2 separate regions of the Homo sapiens genome follow, and region 2 is linked to region 1. The links are contacts of gene promoters, found by promoter capture Hi-C in blood cells and fetal thymus (Javierre and others, 2016). All regions are on one chromosome and are shown on one strand. The core of a region is centred on a gene start or on the middle of the fragment in contact, and the rest is flanking DNA. Distances in the headings are between cores, read along the strand shown.

Region 1 (7,861 bases), core at 4,335-6,834:
AAATACATTTAATTTGTATACTTTTTGTATAATATATAATTATATTACTATATAATACATAATATACATCATATAATATATTCATATATTAGATCTATTTATATTTCTATATATTCATGAATTTATATACTCATATTTTTATATATTCATGAATTTATATTTATATAAAGGATACAGCTAACTTTAAATATATATATTTATTTACTTATTTATATTTTTATATATAAAGGAACCTACCTCAGACCTTCCCTCCCATCTCTGCCCCTGTTTCCCCAGCCACTCCTATGGGGCCTCAGGCCACCTGTGTGGGTGCATACCCTGGGGGCTGGTGGTGGTGCCCCAGCCAGACACCCGACAGGTGGTGCCAGGGGTTAGGCGGTTGTTGTGGGAAAGGGGCAGGGTTTGGATGTAGCCTGTGAGCTGGACCGGGGACTGCAGCTCCAGAAGCATGATGTCATGGTCGTGGTTCAGGTGGGTGGGGCTTCTCCGGTATTCAGGGTGGGGGATAGAGTGGACAACTTCCCTCACCTGCTCACCAGCTTCCACACGCCCTAGGGCGTGCTTGCCTAGGTAAACTTTGAGCCCCCTGTGGGTGCAGAAAGAAGGTGGTTAGGAAAGAAGATGAGCCCATTTCCATCCCCATCCCAGCCCCAACCTCTTCCCATCCCCAACCTAACTTCTTCTCCATCCTACCTTCCTCATCTCCAAATACATCTCCCCCATCCTCAACTTCAATCCCATCCAAATCCCCTACTTTGATTCTATTCCCATACCCAATCCCCATATCTCAACCCCAAACCTCATTCTCACTCCCATGTCCATCCCCAACCCTAACTCCAACTCCATCCTCAAATCCAACTCTACCCCATCCACAATCCCAGTCCCATTCTCATCCCTACCCCATGCTCCCCCGGCCCCCACATACTCCTTTAGACAGTGTGCGGCAGTGAGGACCCATTTGGGGTGGACCAGGACTCCCCCACAGAGTAGCCGCCCTTGCACTAGTAGGGCAGCCTGCCAGGGCTGAGAGTGGGGGAAGCAGGTGTAGCCACCTGGGAGAAACCCACTGGTCCCATTGGTGTTGAGAACCTTGGAAGACTCCTGGGAGACACCTGGTAAAGAAGAGAGATTGTTAGAAAACTGGGATCCAGGGGGCAGAGGAGCCCTGGGGTTGTGGTTTCTGGGTTTGGGGTAAGGGTCGGATTATTGCCCTGGGTGACCAGGAACTGAAGATGAATTTGCCGACCTATGGCAGTTGCTATTCTTGACCAAGTGGAGATGAATTAGGGCAAAGGGGTGACATTATTTTCTCAGGAAGTACCAAATCCTCCACTGGGGGTTAACAGAAGAGTTCACAAAATGAGGATGTTGCTGATAGGTAAGCAGGAGCCTGACTTTCTCTCCACATGCATTTTTTATATCATTCTACCAGAAGATGGATTTCAGGAGGTAGAAGTGAGACTGACCTACACATCCACCTAGGCAATATCTATCCATCAATCTATCCAATCATCCATCCCCCATTCATCCTATTGATTTGTCCATCCGTCTACTCATCCATCTATCCATTCATCCATTTAGGTAGTCATCTAACCATCTATCCATCCATCCATCCATCCATCCATCCAACCATCCATCCACTCATCTGTCCCTCCATCCACTGGTCCATTTATTCATCCATCCATCCATCCATCCATCCATCCATCCATCCATCCATCCATCCAATCCAACCATCCATCCATCCATCTATCCATATATCCATCCATGCATCCATCCAATCATCTTTCCACCCATCTCTCTATCCTTTCACTGCATATATACTGGTTGCCTCCATGGCTTTAAATACCAGCTATAGGCTAATCATCTCCAGCCCTGAACTCTTCTTTAAGCTCAAAACTCAAACACTGTTGATTTGGATGCCTTACAGGCATCTTAAGCTTTGTATTCCCAACTTGATTCTTCTCAATCAAAACTGTTCGCTCCAGTATTTCCCACCTCAGTGCTCAGCCCCAAACCTGGGAGTCATCTTTGCTTCTCTTCTTTCCTTCATCACTCACAACCAGTTCCTATTGGTTTTATCTCCCAAATATCCAGTTATCTCCACACTTCTGCCACCATCTTGGTCCATGCCCCATCTTCTGTAGCCCAAATGACTACAACATTAACCTAAATCCTTCCACTTTTACATCCCTCCGATCCAGTCTTCTCAAAGTAGGCTGAGGACTCTTCAAACAAAGAAAGTCAGATGTTGTTCCCAGGCTCAACTTTCTTTAAAATAAAATCCAAAAAGCCTTCCCAAGGTGTGCAGGACTCTGTGCTGTCTGGCCCTTGCCAGCCTCTTTGACCCCATCTCCAACCTCTTTCTTCTGACTTCCTCTAGTCCAGCCTCATGGGCCTGTTCTTCAAACACACCAGGCATTTAAAGAAAAGAAGAATTTAAATCATCTTGGATGCCCCCATACTAGACATTTTATACTTGCTATTTCCTCTCTCTGCACAGTCCTTTCTCCAGACCTATGTTGTTTAATATGGTAGCCACTAGCTACATGTGGCTATTTAAATTTAAACTAATTAAAATGAAGTAAAACTAAATTAAAAATTCAGTTCTTAAGTCACACCAGCCATATTTCAAATGTTCAATAGCCTGAAGGGGCTAGTGGATAATTGGACAGCACAGATATAGGATATTTCATATATACATATATGGAATATTCTACTGGATGACCCTCAGAATTTAGAGGTTGTATGTCTGGGTCCTTCTTAATTCTGAGAGGTCAGCTCAAATGTCTCCTCTTCAGAAAGGCCTTCCCTGACCACCTGGTCTAATGTTGACTCTCCTGGTCCCGACTCCTCCCCCATTACATTCTTCCAGTTGGTCTTCATCAGAACAATGATTGCTATTCATTTCTCTTCACATTTGTATGTATTCGTTTTTAAAAATCTCTCCACTTTGACTGTAAGCTCCATTGACAACAGGCACCTTAACTGCTTTATTCAGTACCATATTCCCAGGACCTAACACAGCGCCTGGCACACAATGGGGGCTCAATAAATAAATGCTGTGTGTGCCAGGCACTGTGTCTGGCATTGAAAGCACAGCAGGGGTCCGTGGGACAGGGAGAATCCAATCCTGAACATGCATGCCATTTTGTGACTGTGTGACCTTATGCAAATCACCAGCCTCAGTTTCCCCAGCTGTCAAGTAGAAAAAGTAATAGTTCATCTCTCATTGCGCAGTTGAAGAATTCAAGATGATCCTGCATTTCAAACCGTGCAGCACAGCAGGTGGCATGGAGAGCACTCAGTCAGTGGGAAATGTTATTATTAATTATTAGCTACAACAGGAGGTCCCTCTGCCTCCCTAGCTAGTTTCCCCAACTACAGGGCAAGCAGTTGGATTAGCTCAGTGGTTTGCAGTTAGGGACAGAAGTTGTCGGTGAGCACAGGATCATTTTAGATGGTAGAGAGATGAGATTTAAGTAACGTTAAATCGCACACTCAGACGCTGAACCAGCATCCAGTTCTCTTTTAAACCTGATTTTGTCAAGGATAAAGTCTCAGGATGGTGCTAATATGGTTTTAACACCTCCCTAATCCTCACTGAGCTCACTTTTCAAAGCCAGGAGGACACAGAAGCCTCATCAGGCCACCTAACATTTATTACACTGAACCATCTGCAAAAGTTGTTTTAGGAAGGTCAAAAAGGGTCAAGTATCAGCAATTTCAGGTGGTCCAACCCAATAAACATATTATTTTCTTTTCATTGTGCAGGATTTATTTCCTTCCTTACCTTCTATTTATGACAAAGAATTCTATTCTCTATTCAGGACAGTAATATAAAGTTGAACATGCTTTTGTTTGAGTGAAAAAAGAAGAAAAAAAGCTAACTTTAAGCAAATGATTAGGTCAAAAGTTATAAAAATGGTTTTCAGAGCCTCAAGTCCAGGATATGGACAGGGAAAACAACCTTGATTAGGATTCTGACTCAGGCATCGCCGGTGTCATTGGAGCAGGAGCCTTCTGTCTTTGAGTCCTAGGTTTCTCTGCCATGAAATTGGAGTAATTACAATGCACCTACCTCGCCAGGTTGTTGAGGACTCCACAAGGCGTAGCGTGTGGGTCTCCTAGCCTAGGGTGTGGCACTCAGGAGTGGCACGGGCATGAATCCAGGGAGTGTCGCCAGAGGAGAAAAGCCACCCCACCTTCAGGCCAAGGATGGTGCCAGGTGCCAGGCACCCACAGATCCCTCCTTTTTCAGGTCTTGGCTCAAGGGTCAAGCCCTTTGGGAAGGCCTCTGGTCGGGAAGCCGCCATTACATCTCTAGGCCCCTGGCTTGGCTCCTTGAAGTCTTCACCTCATGTCAAGATAATTATTAACTAATTATTTGGATAATTGTTTGAATAACATCTGCGTCTGTCCCCGCTAGACTCCAGGTGCTGAGAGCAGGGACTGTGTCTCTGCTTGTACAGCACCCAGCACAGTGGCCGGTGTTTAATAGCTGTTTGTTGAATGAATAAATGATTCATGAACGGGGTTTCCAGAGAACCTGCCTACAACGGCAGGGAAAGATGGGAAAGATCCATAAGGATCTTAAGGACTACCAATTTGGGGTGAGGTCACATAGGTTTGGGGTCAACCCAAGGATTAAAATAACAATCTAGAAGGTTCTGGAAGGGGCTGAGTATGAAGACAGAATACTAGAGGCCGGGCTCGGTGGCTCATGCCTGTAATCCTGGCACTTTGGGAGGCTGACGCGGGCTACTTGAAGTTAGAAGTTCGAGACCAGCCTAACCAACATGGCGAAACCCCGTCTCTGCTGAAAATACAAAAATTAGTTGGGCGTGGTGGCGGGCGCCTGTAATCCCAGCTACTCGGGAGGCTGAGGCAGGAGAATCGCTTCAACCCGGGAGGCGGAGGTTTCAGTAAGCCAAGATCGTGCCACTGCCTTCCAGCCTGGGAGACAGAGCAAGGTTCCATCTCAAAAAAAAAAAAAAAAAAAAAAAGGAATACTACTAATAAAGTAATAACGGCTAAGTGGCTAACTTTCAAGTCCCTTCTACCTGCGACATACTGAAGGCTCGACGCATTACCTCGTTTCAATATTCACAGTGACCTTCTCTGGTAAGCACTTATAGATTAAGCCCATTTTCCAGATGAAAACAATTTAGGCACAAAGCAGCTGCTAGGCTACTGGCTCAAAGCGGCAGCGTCAGGACGCGAACCCATGTCTTTCAGCTTTCCAGAGAGGACAGGAAGCCTTGAACGCGGGAGGGGCTGCTGCGAGGGTATTTTGGGAGGTGAAGGGTCTGGGGTCGGAGGGCCAACCTCAGCCGGGAAACCAGGTCACCCAGGGACAAGCAGGAAGAGCTCTGAGCTGTCCCCACTGGACCCGGCCCCGAGTGGGCGGGGGGCGGAGCTCGCGGCTCCCACGCCCCCTCCCCCTCCGGCCTGACCCCTCCTACCATTGTCCCGAATGGCCGCCGCGCCTCCACCCCCGCGCATTCTTACCTCCTGACAAGGCCAAGGTCAGGGAGGCGATCACTAGGGCCAGGGGCCACATGGCTCCGGGATCGGGAGGGGAGGGCAGGGCGGGCGGGGCCTGAGGAGAAGGTGAAGGGGGTGTTGAGGGCGTGCCCGGAACCTCCGCGTCTGAAACCTCTCTGCTCCTGAATGTCTCCTCGCCTCATTCACTCTTGACAGCCCTGACCCTGGAATCTGCCCCCCGCCTCCAATTCCATCCTTGGTGGGGGTGCAGTGGCGAGGTGGGAGGAACAGTGTGCAACCTCCTGGGGCTCCGGCGTGCAGCCCCTCACCCCAGGAAGCCGTCCCTCCTCCCCTGCCCTCTGGCGAGCTGGGTGGTCGGTGCACTCTCGCCCTTTTCCTCCAGAGTCTGCCTTCCATTCTACCCCTCTGGGTCTGTCCACACGCTTGGTATTAGCCCAAGTTCTTATCTGTCCGCGCCCTTCGCCTCTCTCCGTCTCTGCAGGTTTCTCTCTAGATCTGAGACTCTAGCTTCACTCTCCCTCTCCCTGACTCAGCTGCCCTTCTGCTTTCCCCATCCTTCCTATCCCCTCTTCTCTCCCCTCCCTGCCCTCCTCCGCTCCCCGCCCCCGCCCCAGGCAGACCCTACCTGAGTGAGGGGCCCACGAGGAGCGTCAGCCGCCAGCTGTCTAGAACTTCAGCCCCGAACCATGGCTTTTAACCCCTGAACTCCCTCCCCCAGCTCACTCAGCATTTCCTGGTCCCTGGCCTCCCCCTCTCCACCCCCAGTGGCTCAGCGGGATGTCTCCAGGCACCCCCGACCTGGGCTTGGCCCTCTGCTTGGGGCGGAGCTTCCAGGACGTGCTGGGACCTAGGTCTGACCCCGCCCAAGGCAGAGTTGAACCCACTGTGAACTTTCAGGCCTCAGGACCCAAAAAAGGGTAAGGGGAAAGCCCATTTCCTTCCCCCTACCCCGCTGAGTTCCATGCCCATCCCTAACTTCAACCCATTCTGCACCCAGTTTTCTAACCTCTTCTCCAACCCCATGCATAATTCTTAATAGGCAGTCAGCCCCCAGATGGCCGTGTTCTATCAGATTCCCACCTCCCTATCCATCCCTAACCATACCAAGTACTCCAGCCTGTTCCTCAACCCCAGTCCCATCTCCAACCTCATCTCAGGTTTAGCTCTCAACACATCCAGGTTCCAATTCCCAGTCTCATCTCAACCCTTTTTCTTTTGAAAGACACAAGGACACCCACAATTATCCCATCATCCTGCCTCCCTGCTCCCGCCAACCACCGGACACAAGAAGGAAATCATCAGCTGGGTGGATAGAAAATCAGCTCCCTCGGACTTGGATGGGGGCAGAGATGCGACCTGAGAAAGCAACATTTTCCAGAAATGGCCTTTTAGGAGCAGGGCCAGAGGGGGTGAGGGAGTCCACGGGGACCTAGGTGGAGAGGAAAAAGCAGGAGCCGGAAAGCTTTGAAGACGTGGATTGGGGGTGGGGGAGAGGAAGGAGGAAGGGGTGGTGTTTTGAGAATGAGTAGGTGTCTCCAGGAACTATGACTGGGTGGAGCCCTGAGTTAATCCTAGGGGGTGGAGGGGACAGGATTAGGGATTAAGGACTGAGGTGGGGTCAGAATTTGGAAGAAAGCCAGGGACGTGGACCAGATGAAGTTTGGAAAGAGTGAGAGAGTGGAGGTGTCACAATGAGGATAAAGAATAGAGATGGATGGGGCGAGGGCTCACATGGAAACTTGTACAGTCCTTATTGATGGAGTTCAGATTTGGATGTGGAGATCAAATCTAGTGTCAAAGGGTAACTTTTAAAACATGGTCTTACCATGACTCTCTGACATATATGAAATGAACATGTGTCAAAGATTGTATCTTGACTCATTAATAAATGGCAGAGCCAGTAAGATGTTACAAAGAGCCATATGCACAGAGACAACGAGGAATGCTGAAATGAATTTACAAATAGATGCAAAACTGGCTATTCCACACTGGGAGGAGGAGGGAAATCCATTGTACTTCCACCTGGCAAAATTCATGTAAACATTTATGGACAAGAATTATTTGCATTGCTCTCAGATACCTACAATTTAGAGTCATAAAGTGGCTCAAAGACAGGAAAGGGTACAGAGACCTCATAAAATCAGATAACCCATCTAACTTTGCATTGGCGACACCTCAGTGTCCAATGTTGGGTCCATTTCAAAGTATTTTGCTAAGAAGAAAAATATGGCTTAATATAGGAAATCAGTAGAGTCTATGGTTAAGGATGGGCCTGATGACAACATTAGGAATGCAATGAGTTTGGGGAGGTGAATGAAAATTGGATGAGGATGGGTATAGAGTTGGAGGTGGTAGT
Region 2 (7,842 bases), core at 59-2,558, 130 kb before region 1:
TTTCTCTTTTATCAGCAAAACAAAAACTTTCCCAGAAACTCCAGCTTTGTCTTCTTGCTTATAACTGGATGACATGGCCACCCGGATGTATCCAGGTCATATGCCAATCTGAGCAATACTCGGGCTCGTCAGTAATGCAGTGGGAAGAATGATAAGCACATCTCAGTTGCACCCAGCTTGCCCTGTGCCAAGTCAGACAAGTCACAAAACACCAACCTCTGCCTCTTAGTCCACACACATCTCCCCTCTGTTCGCCTGTTTGCCCTTGAGCCTGAACTTGATGGGAAAATGCATCCAGGCTCTGCCATTAGCAACAATCAGCGTGGGGATAGTGCTTGCATCTTTGGTGGGCAGAGAACCAAGCACACTGTTTCTCCTAAACTCTTGGTTTATTTTTCTTGAGACAGGGTCTGGCTTTGTTGCCCAGGCTGGTCTCGAACTCCTGGGCTCAAGCAATCCTCCTGCCTCAGCCTCTGAAGTAGTTGGGATTACAGGTGTGAGCCACCATGCCCGGCCTCTCTTCTTTTCATCACGGTTGTAGCAATTGTTCCACAAGTGTATTACCTTTACAACTGTTAAAGAAACTAGAAACTATCCAAATGTCTCCTCATAGTAAAAAAATGGCTCAATAAATCGGAGTACATTTACACAATGGTATACTGTGCAACGATGAGAATAAAACATTTACAACCATAAACAAAAACCTGGGCGGACCACACAATATATAATACTGAGAAAAAAAAAAGCCCAACACAAAATAATATAAGACACTCATTGCTTTTTTTGTTTGTTTGTTTTTTTGTTTTTTTAGACAAAGTCTCACTCTGTCACCAGGCTGGAGAGCAGTGGCACGATCTCAGCTCACTGCAACCTCTGCCTCCCAGGTTCAAGCAATTCTCCTGCCTCAGCCTCCCAAGTAGCTGGGATTACAGGTGCATGCCTCCATGTCCGGCTAATTTTTGTATTTTTAGTAGAGACGGGGTTTCACCATGCTGGCCAGGATGGTCTCGATCTCTTGACCTCGTGATCCACTCGGCTCAGCCTCCCAAATGATTTATTTATATAAACTTATTATACTTCTATATGTCTATGTAAATAAATTTATATTTATATGTTGTTCATAAATGGGACAAATTAATTTATGGTGATAGAAGTCACAAAAGTTGCTACACTTGGGGAGAAGTCATGAAAGTCGCTACCCTTGCAGGCGAGGGATTTAGGTAGTAATGGAAGCGGCTACATTTGGCAGGGGAGGTAGTGACTGCAAGGAAGACCCCACTGGTTTTTCTGAGGAGATGCTTAGGTTCCGTGGCTCTGTCTGAATGCTGGTTACAAGGGTGTGTTCTGTTTTGTGAAACTTCACTGCCATTTATGATACTTCTGTGCATGTTTCTTTCTTTCTCCTTTCTTTCTTTCTTTCTTTCTTTCTTTCTTTCTTTCTTTCTTTCTTTCTTTCTTTCTTTTTTTGTTTCTTGAGACAGTCTCATTCTGTCATCTAGGCTGGAGTGCAATGGCGTGATCTTGGCTCACTGCAATCTCCACCTCCCAGGTTCAAGCGATTCTCTTGCCTCAGCCTCCCGAGTAGCTGGGATTACAGGTGCCCACCACCGAGCCCGGCTAATTTTTGTATTTTTAGTAGAGACAGGGTTTCGCCACATTGGCCATGCTGGTTTCGAACTCCTGACCTCAGGTAATCCACCCGCCTCGGCCTCCCAAAGTGCTGGGATTACAGGTGTGAGCCACCATGCCCGGCCCTGTGCATTATCTTTCAATAAAAGTTAATTTAAAATATTGCTGCAAGGGCATCTATGGGGCAGACATCATTGGTTGTTCCTCCCGTTCTTTGATGTCGGAATCCTGATTTCTCTCAAGGAGCAGCTTCTACATGCTTTAGGGGAGGTCCTCCACTCCATCGTGAAAGAATAATCCTGTTTGGTTCAAATCAACCATGTTAACCTCTCCACCCCACTCCCCACCCCACCCCACCAGTCTGTGACTGGTTTAGGAAAGGACATGTGACCCAATTCTGGCCAGTAAGAATAAGATAAAATTCTGCTGGGGTGGTTTCTGGAAAAGCATCATCCTTCTCAAAGACAGACCCACTACGGGTGTTGATCTTAAGGATGATGACCCCCCGCCGAGGAGAACCAAGCGAAACACAGCCTGACGCCCTGTGTCTGGAGCTGCCCTTACCTGGATTTCTTGATATGTGAAATTAAAACTTATTTACTATTGAAGCCAGCATGAATCTTCTCTTGTTCCTCAAAGCAGCTTAACCGGAAACATCATTTTGGAAAATGTGCTCAAGACTGCCCCTTAGCTAGGATTCTGCTCCTATCTAGATTTTTTTAAGATTAAGAAAAAAAAAATTGAGGCCAGATGGCTCACGCCTGTAATCCCAGCACTTTGGGAGGCTGAGGTAGGCAGATCACCTGAGGTCAGGAGTTCGAGACCAGTGTGGCCAACATAGCGAAACCCTGTCTCTACTAAAAATACAAAAATTAGCCAGGCATGGTGGCTCACACCTATAGTCCCAGCTACTCAGGAGGCTGAGGCATGGGGATTGCTTGAACTGGGGAGGTGGAAGTTGCAGTGAGCCGAGAATACGCTACTGCACTCCAGCCTGGGTGACAGAGTGAGACTCTGTCTAAAGAAAAACAAAAACAAAAAACAAACATTGAATTACAACTGTCACCCAGTACTATTTGCCCCTATTTTCACACCACACCACACACCCTGGCAGCCCAGTCTTTCTGGAATGTCCCCTAAAAAGTCGTGAGGACTTGTAAATGGCTAGGCACAAAGGGGAAGATAAAGGTGACAATTATTGGATCATTTTGATGTATGTGTCCTTCTCTCACACCTTTGACTGTTCATCAGGCAGACACTTCTTATCTCTTCTTCCTTGCTGGTAAGGACTGCACCCGTGACAGAGAAATGTCAGAAACTCACTTTCTCAGCTTCTCTTGAAGCTAGAGTGTCAGCATTGGGACCTTCTCCAATGAGTGGTCATTGAGACCCAAGAACAGATCCAGGGGTGTGGGGGGACTCTGGAAAAGACTTTCTTTCCTAATGAAGAGAGCTCTGCCAACAGAGTCTCTCCTTCCTGCCTTTTGTCATGGTGCGTGAGGATGTGATGTCTGGAGCTGTGGCAGCCATTTTACAGCCACGAGATTACAAGCCTAAAGGAGAAAGCTGACATATTTTCTTCTTCCTGCTAGAACATAAGCTTAAGGAAGGCAGGGGTTTGGTGTCTGTTTTATTAATCAGTCTATCCCAAGTGTCTATAATATTACTTGGCTCTCATAGGTGCTCATGAGTTGAATAAATATATGAATGAATGAATGCAGAGGGCAGTAGAGAAGAAAGATGGGTCCCTAATGATGTAATGTAGGAATCACCAAACCACAGTACTTCCCTCTTTTGGGGCTTCTTATTATGTGAAATAATACACGTCCTTATTGCTTAACCCACTTTGAGTTGGGTATTTTGTTACTGACAAAATTTTCTAGTGTAATTCCTTTTCTAGAGTGTTCAATTTCCAAAGTATTCCCTGGAGTGACTTTCTATAACCACCTGTGAGTATCTTGAGAAATCTTAGAGCTGGATTGGCACGTGGAGATCATTACGTTTCAATCCTCCCATTTTACAGGTAGAGAAACTGAGGTCCAGAAAAAGTACAAATGACCTTTACACAGGTCACTCAGAAAGTGCTGAAGACTAGAATGTCCATGTGTTGATGTGTTGTCCATTTCAATGACTACCACGCCCACAACCTTCTTAGGGGCCCTGCCCTGCCCACTGCTATGGATGAAGGGGTGGCTGGGGGATCCATGTTGCACTCTGTGGGCCCACCTTTCAGACTAGAGATAGAGTCTGCATCTGACCCTAGGACAGCCAACCAGATTTTTTCTCTAGGGGCTATGAACAAAGAAAACCCAGTAACTGGAGCCAGTTATGGGGGAGAGAAGAGATGCTTTGATAGGCAACAGGCAGTCAATGTAATGAGAAAACAGAGGTGGGATGAGAAGAAAGAGACCGTGAAAGACACATACCTAGGGGAGAAGGGATAGAGATCCCACAGGCAGCTGCTTCTGCCCTGACATTTTCCAATTTAAATTAATGGATATTCTTTTGATAACTGATATGGCCTGGCCCTGTGTCCCCACCCAAATCTCATCTTGGATTTTAATTTGAATCATAATCCCCACGTGTTGGGGGTGGGATCTCATGGGAGGTGATTAGATCATGGGGACAGTCCCCCCATGCTATTCTTGTGATAGTAGTGAGTTCTCACAAGATCTGATGGTTTTATAATTTTCCCCCTTCAGTTTGCCCTTCTCCTTTCGGCCACCCTGTGAAGAAGGACATGTTTGGTTCCCCTTCTACCATGATCGTAAGTTTTCTGAGGCCTCCCCAGCCATGCTGAACTATGAGTCAATCAAACCTCTTTCCTTTATAAATTACCCAGTCTTAGGTAGTATCTTTGCAGCAACTTGAGAATGGACTAATACAATAACCTACCTCCCGTTTCTACCCTGGCCAACAAGCAGCTCCAGTTTGTTCTCCACAAAGAGCCAGAATGTTCTCCTTTGTGCATGAACCAGATCCGGCTGGAAAACCTCCAATGACTTCCCAAATTCTCAGAGAAAACAAACAAGTGTCCAGCTCTATGGGTCTTCTTTCAGCTCCTGGAGAATGTCCAGCATGCTCCAATCTCAGCACTTGGCACTTGACCTCCTCTCTGTCTGGAACATCAGTGCCCCAGATGTTCATGGGGCTGGCCACTTTCTTTCTTTTTTTTTTTTTTTTTGAGATGGAGTCTCCTTCCATCACCCAGGCTGAAGTGCAGTGGCGCAATCTCGGCTCACTGCAACTTCTGCCTCCCAGGTTCCAGTGATTCTCCTGCCTCAGCCTCCCAAGTAGCTGGGATTACAGGTGTGCAACACCACGCCCAGCTAGTTTTTGTATTTTTAGTAGAGACAGGGTTTCACCATGTTGGCCAGGCTGGTCTTGAACTCCTGACCTCAAGTAACCACCTACCTCAGCCTCCCAAAGTGCTGGGGTTATAGGCATGAGCCACTGCGCCCTGCCTGGGGCTGGCCACTCTATCCTCTCAGTCTCAAATGGTACCTCCTCGGCGAGGCCCTTTGTGTTTGTTACAGTGGCTACTGTAACAAATCACTGAGAGTCTAGTTGCTTAAAACAACACAGATTTATTCTATTGTAGTTTGGGAGGTCAGAAGTCCTAAAGATCTCACTGGGCAGAAATCAAGGTGGTCGGCAGGGCTGGTTCCTTCTGGAGGCTCTAGGGGAGGGTCCATTCCCATGTCCTCCTGCCTTCCAGAGGTTGCCCATATTCCTTGGCTCATGCCCCTTCCTTCACCTTCATCATCATCATCATTATTATTATTATTATTATTATTATTATTACTATTGTTAGAGATTGGGTCTTGTTCTGTTGCTCAGGCTGGAGTGCAGTGATCCTCCTACTTCAGTCTCCCGAGTAGCTGGGACTGTAGGCACACACCACTACACCTGGCAAATTAAAAAACATTTTTTTTTTTTTTAGAGATGGGGTCTCCCTATGTTGCCCAGGCTGGTCTTGAACTCTTGGCCTCAAGCCATGCCCCTGCCTTGGCCTCCCAAAGTGCTGGGATTACAGGCGTGAGCCACCATGCTCATCTTCCTCTGTCTTCAAAGCCAGCAGCATAGCATCTTCCAGTCTCTCATTCTGATCTTTCCGCCTCCCTCTTATAAGGACCCTTCTGATTATATTGGGTCCACCCAGATAATCCAGGATCATCTCCCCATCTCAAGACCCTTAATCACATCAGCAAAGCCCCCTTGCTATAGAAGGTAACATATTCACAGGCTCCAGAAATTAAGATGGCGTTTCGAGGTGGGAGGGAGGCATTATGCTGCCTCCCATGCCCTCCTTGATCATCCAATGTAGAGACCCCCCCCACCAACTCACGACATTTCCTCTCTTGCCTTATGCCCTGCTCTCATTGTGTTCATGTCACTTACATAATTACTATGGCACATACAAGTTTATCTCTCTCTCTCTTTTGTTTTTTTGAGCTGGCATCTTACTGTCGCCAGGCTGGAGTGCAGTGGCGTGATCTCTGCTCACTGTAATCTCCACCTCCCAGGTTCAAGCAATTCTCCTGCCTCAGTCTCCTGAGTAGCTGGGATTACAGGTGCATGCCACCATGCCTAGCTAATTTTTGTATTTTTAGTAGAGAGGGGGTTTCACCATGTTGGCCAGGATGGTCTCGATCTCCTGAACTTGTGATTCGCCTGCTTTGGCCTCCCAATTATCTCTCTCTTTATTGTCTGTCTTCCACTCCTGGAATGTGAGCTCTACAAGGCAGGAACTTTTTGGTCTGTTTGGCCCAATGCCTTATCCCCAGCACATGGAACCATTCCTGGTGCAAAGTAGCCACATGGGCCCGGGTGTGGTGGCTCATGCCTGTAATCCCAGCACTTTGGGAGGCTGAGGCGGGCAGATCACTTGAGGTCAGGAGTTCGAGACCAGCCTGGCCAACATGGTGAAACCCTGTTTCTACTAAAAATACAAAAACTAGCTGGGCGTGGTGGTGGACGCCTGTAATCCCAGATGCTTGGGAGGCTGAGGCAGGAGAATCGCTTGAACCTGGGAGGTGGAGGTTGCAGTGAGCCGAGATTGTGCCACTGCACTCCAGTGTGGTTAACAGAGTGAGACTCCATCGCAAAAAAAAAAAAATAATAATAATAAATAAATGAAAATAAAAAATAGCCACCTGGCCAATATTTATGAAGAAGGTGAAAAGTAGTCTGACTGGACCTCTGTTTCTCACAACCCAAGTGACCTCATAGACAAAACACATGAGCCTGGAGGCGGAGATATGACTTGTTCACAGCCACCCTGCACAGGGAGGAGACACAGGAAGATTCCACTTCTCAGTTTATTTCTGGGACTAAATTTGGGTCAGAGCTGCAGAGAAGGGATGGGCCCTGAGCTTGAGGATGAAAGTGCCCCAGGGAGATTGAGACGCAACCCCCGCCCTGGACAGTTTTGGAAATTGTTCCCAGGGTTCAACTAGAGAGACACGGTCAGCCCAATGTGGGGGAAGCAGACCCTGAGTCCAGGAGACATGGGGTCAGGGGCTGGAGAGATGAACATTCTCAACATCTCTGGGAAGGAATGAGGGTCTGAAAGGAGTGTCAGGGCTGTCCCTGCAGCAGGTGGGGATGCCGGTGTGCTGAGTCCTGGGATGACTCAGGAGTTGGCCTGGATGGTTTCCTGGATCCACTTGGTGAACTTGCAGAGGTTCGTGTAGACACCCGGTCTGTTGGGCCGGGCACAAGGGTAATCTCCCCAGGACACGAGTCCCTGCAGGGAGCCATTGCAGACCACAGGCCCCCCAGAATCACCCTGCAGGAGAGAAAGGGGGGCATGAGAGAGGCAGAGATGTGGCAAAGTGGGCAGAAGGAGACATGAGAGACCCAGAGATGCCCATAGATGGAGAAGCAGATGGGAACAGACACACAGAGATGGAAAGTACAGAGATGAAGAAATGCAGAAAAAGACAGAGATGGAGACACAGGCAAAAGGAGAGAGAGGGAGAATGTTATTAATATTTCACTCCAAATCCAGCTTTTTTTTTTTTGAGATGGAGTCTTACTCTGTTGCCCAGGTTGGAGCGCAGTGGCCTGACCTCAGCTCACTGCAGCCTCCATCTCCCGGGTTCAAGCAATTCTCCTGCCTCAGCCTCCCAAGTAGCTGTGACTACAGGTGTCCATCACCACACCCGGCTAATTTTTTGTATTTTTTTTGTAGAGACGGGGTTTCACCAT

The links. The method cuts DNA at HindIII sites, captures the fragments that hold promoters and counts their contacts. A CHiCAGO score of 5 or more calls a contact.
Region 2: a contact is called between a fragment that was not itself captured here and the fragment with the promoter of KLK13 in region 1, in 1 of 17 cell types (M1 macrophages). The highest score is 5.3, in M1 macrophages.

What each region holds. Positions count from the first base shown.
Region 1 is chr19:51,059,508-51,067,368 of GRCh38, forward strand. KLK13 (kallikrein related peptidase 13) reads right to left here and starts at 5,585. Exons shown (of 5, transcript NM_015596.3): 1 at 5,509-5,585; 2 at 926-1,112; 3 at 318-586. The coding sequence starts at 5,560. The HindIII fragment of the contact is 5,030 bases long and covers 1,936-6,965 here.
Region 2 is chr19:50,936,367-50,944,208 of GRCh38, forward strand. It overlaps KLK5 (kallikrein related peptidase 5), which reads right to left. Exons shown (of 6, transcript NM_012427.5): 6 at 6,937-7,420. The coding sequence ends at 7,265. Among named protein-coding and RNA genes, the nearest start is that of PPIAP59, 13 kb to the left of the region's middle. RefSeq lists a silencer at 2,672-2,835. The HindIII fragment of the contact is 3,837 bases long and covers 1-3,227 here.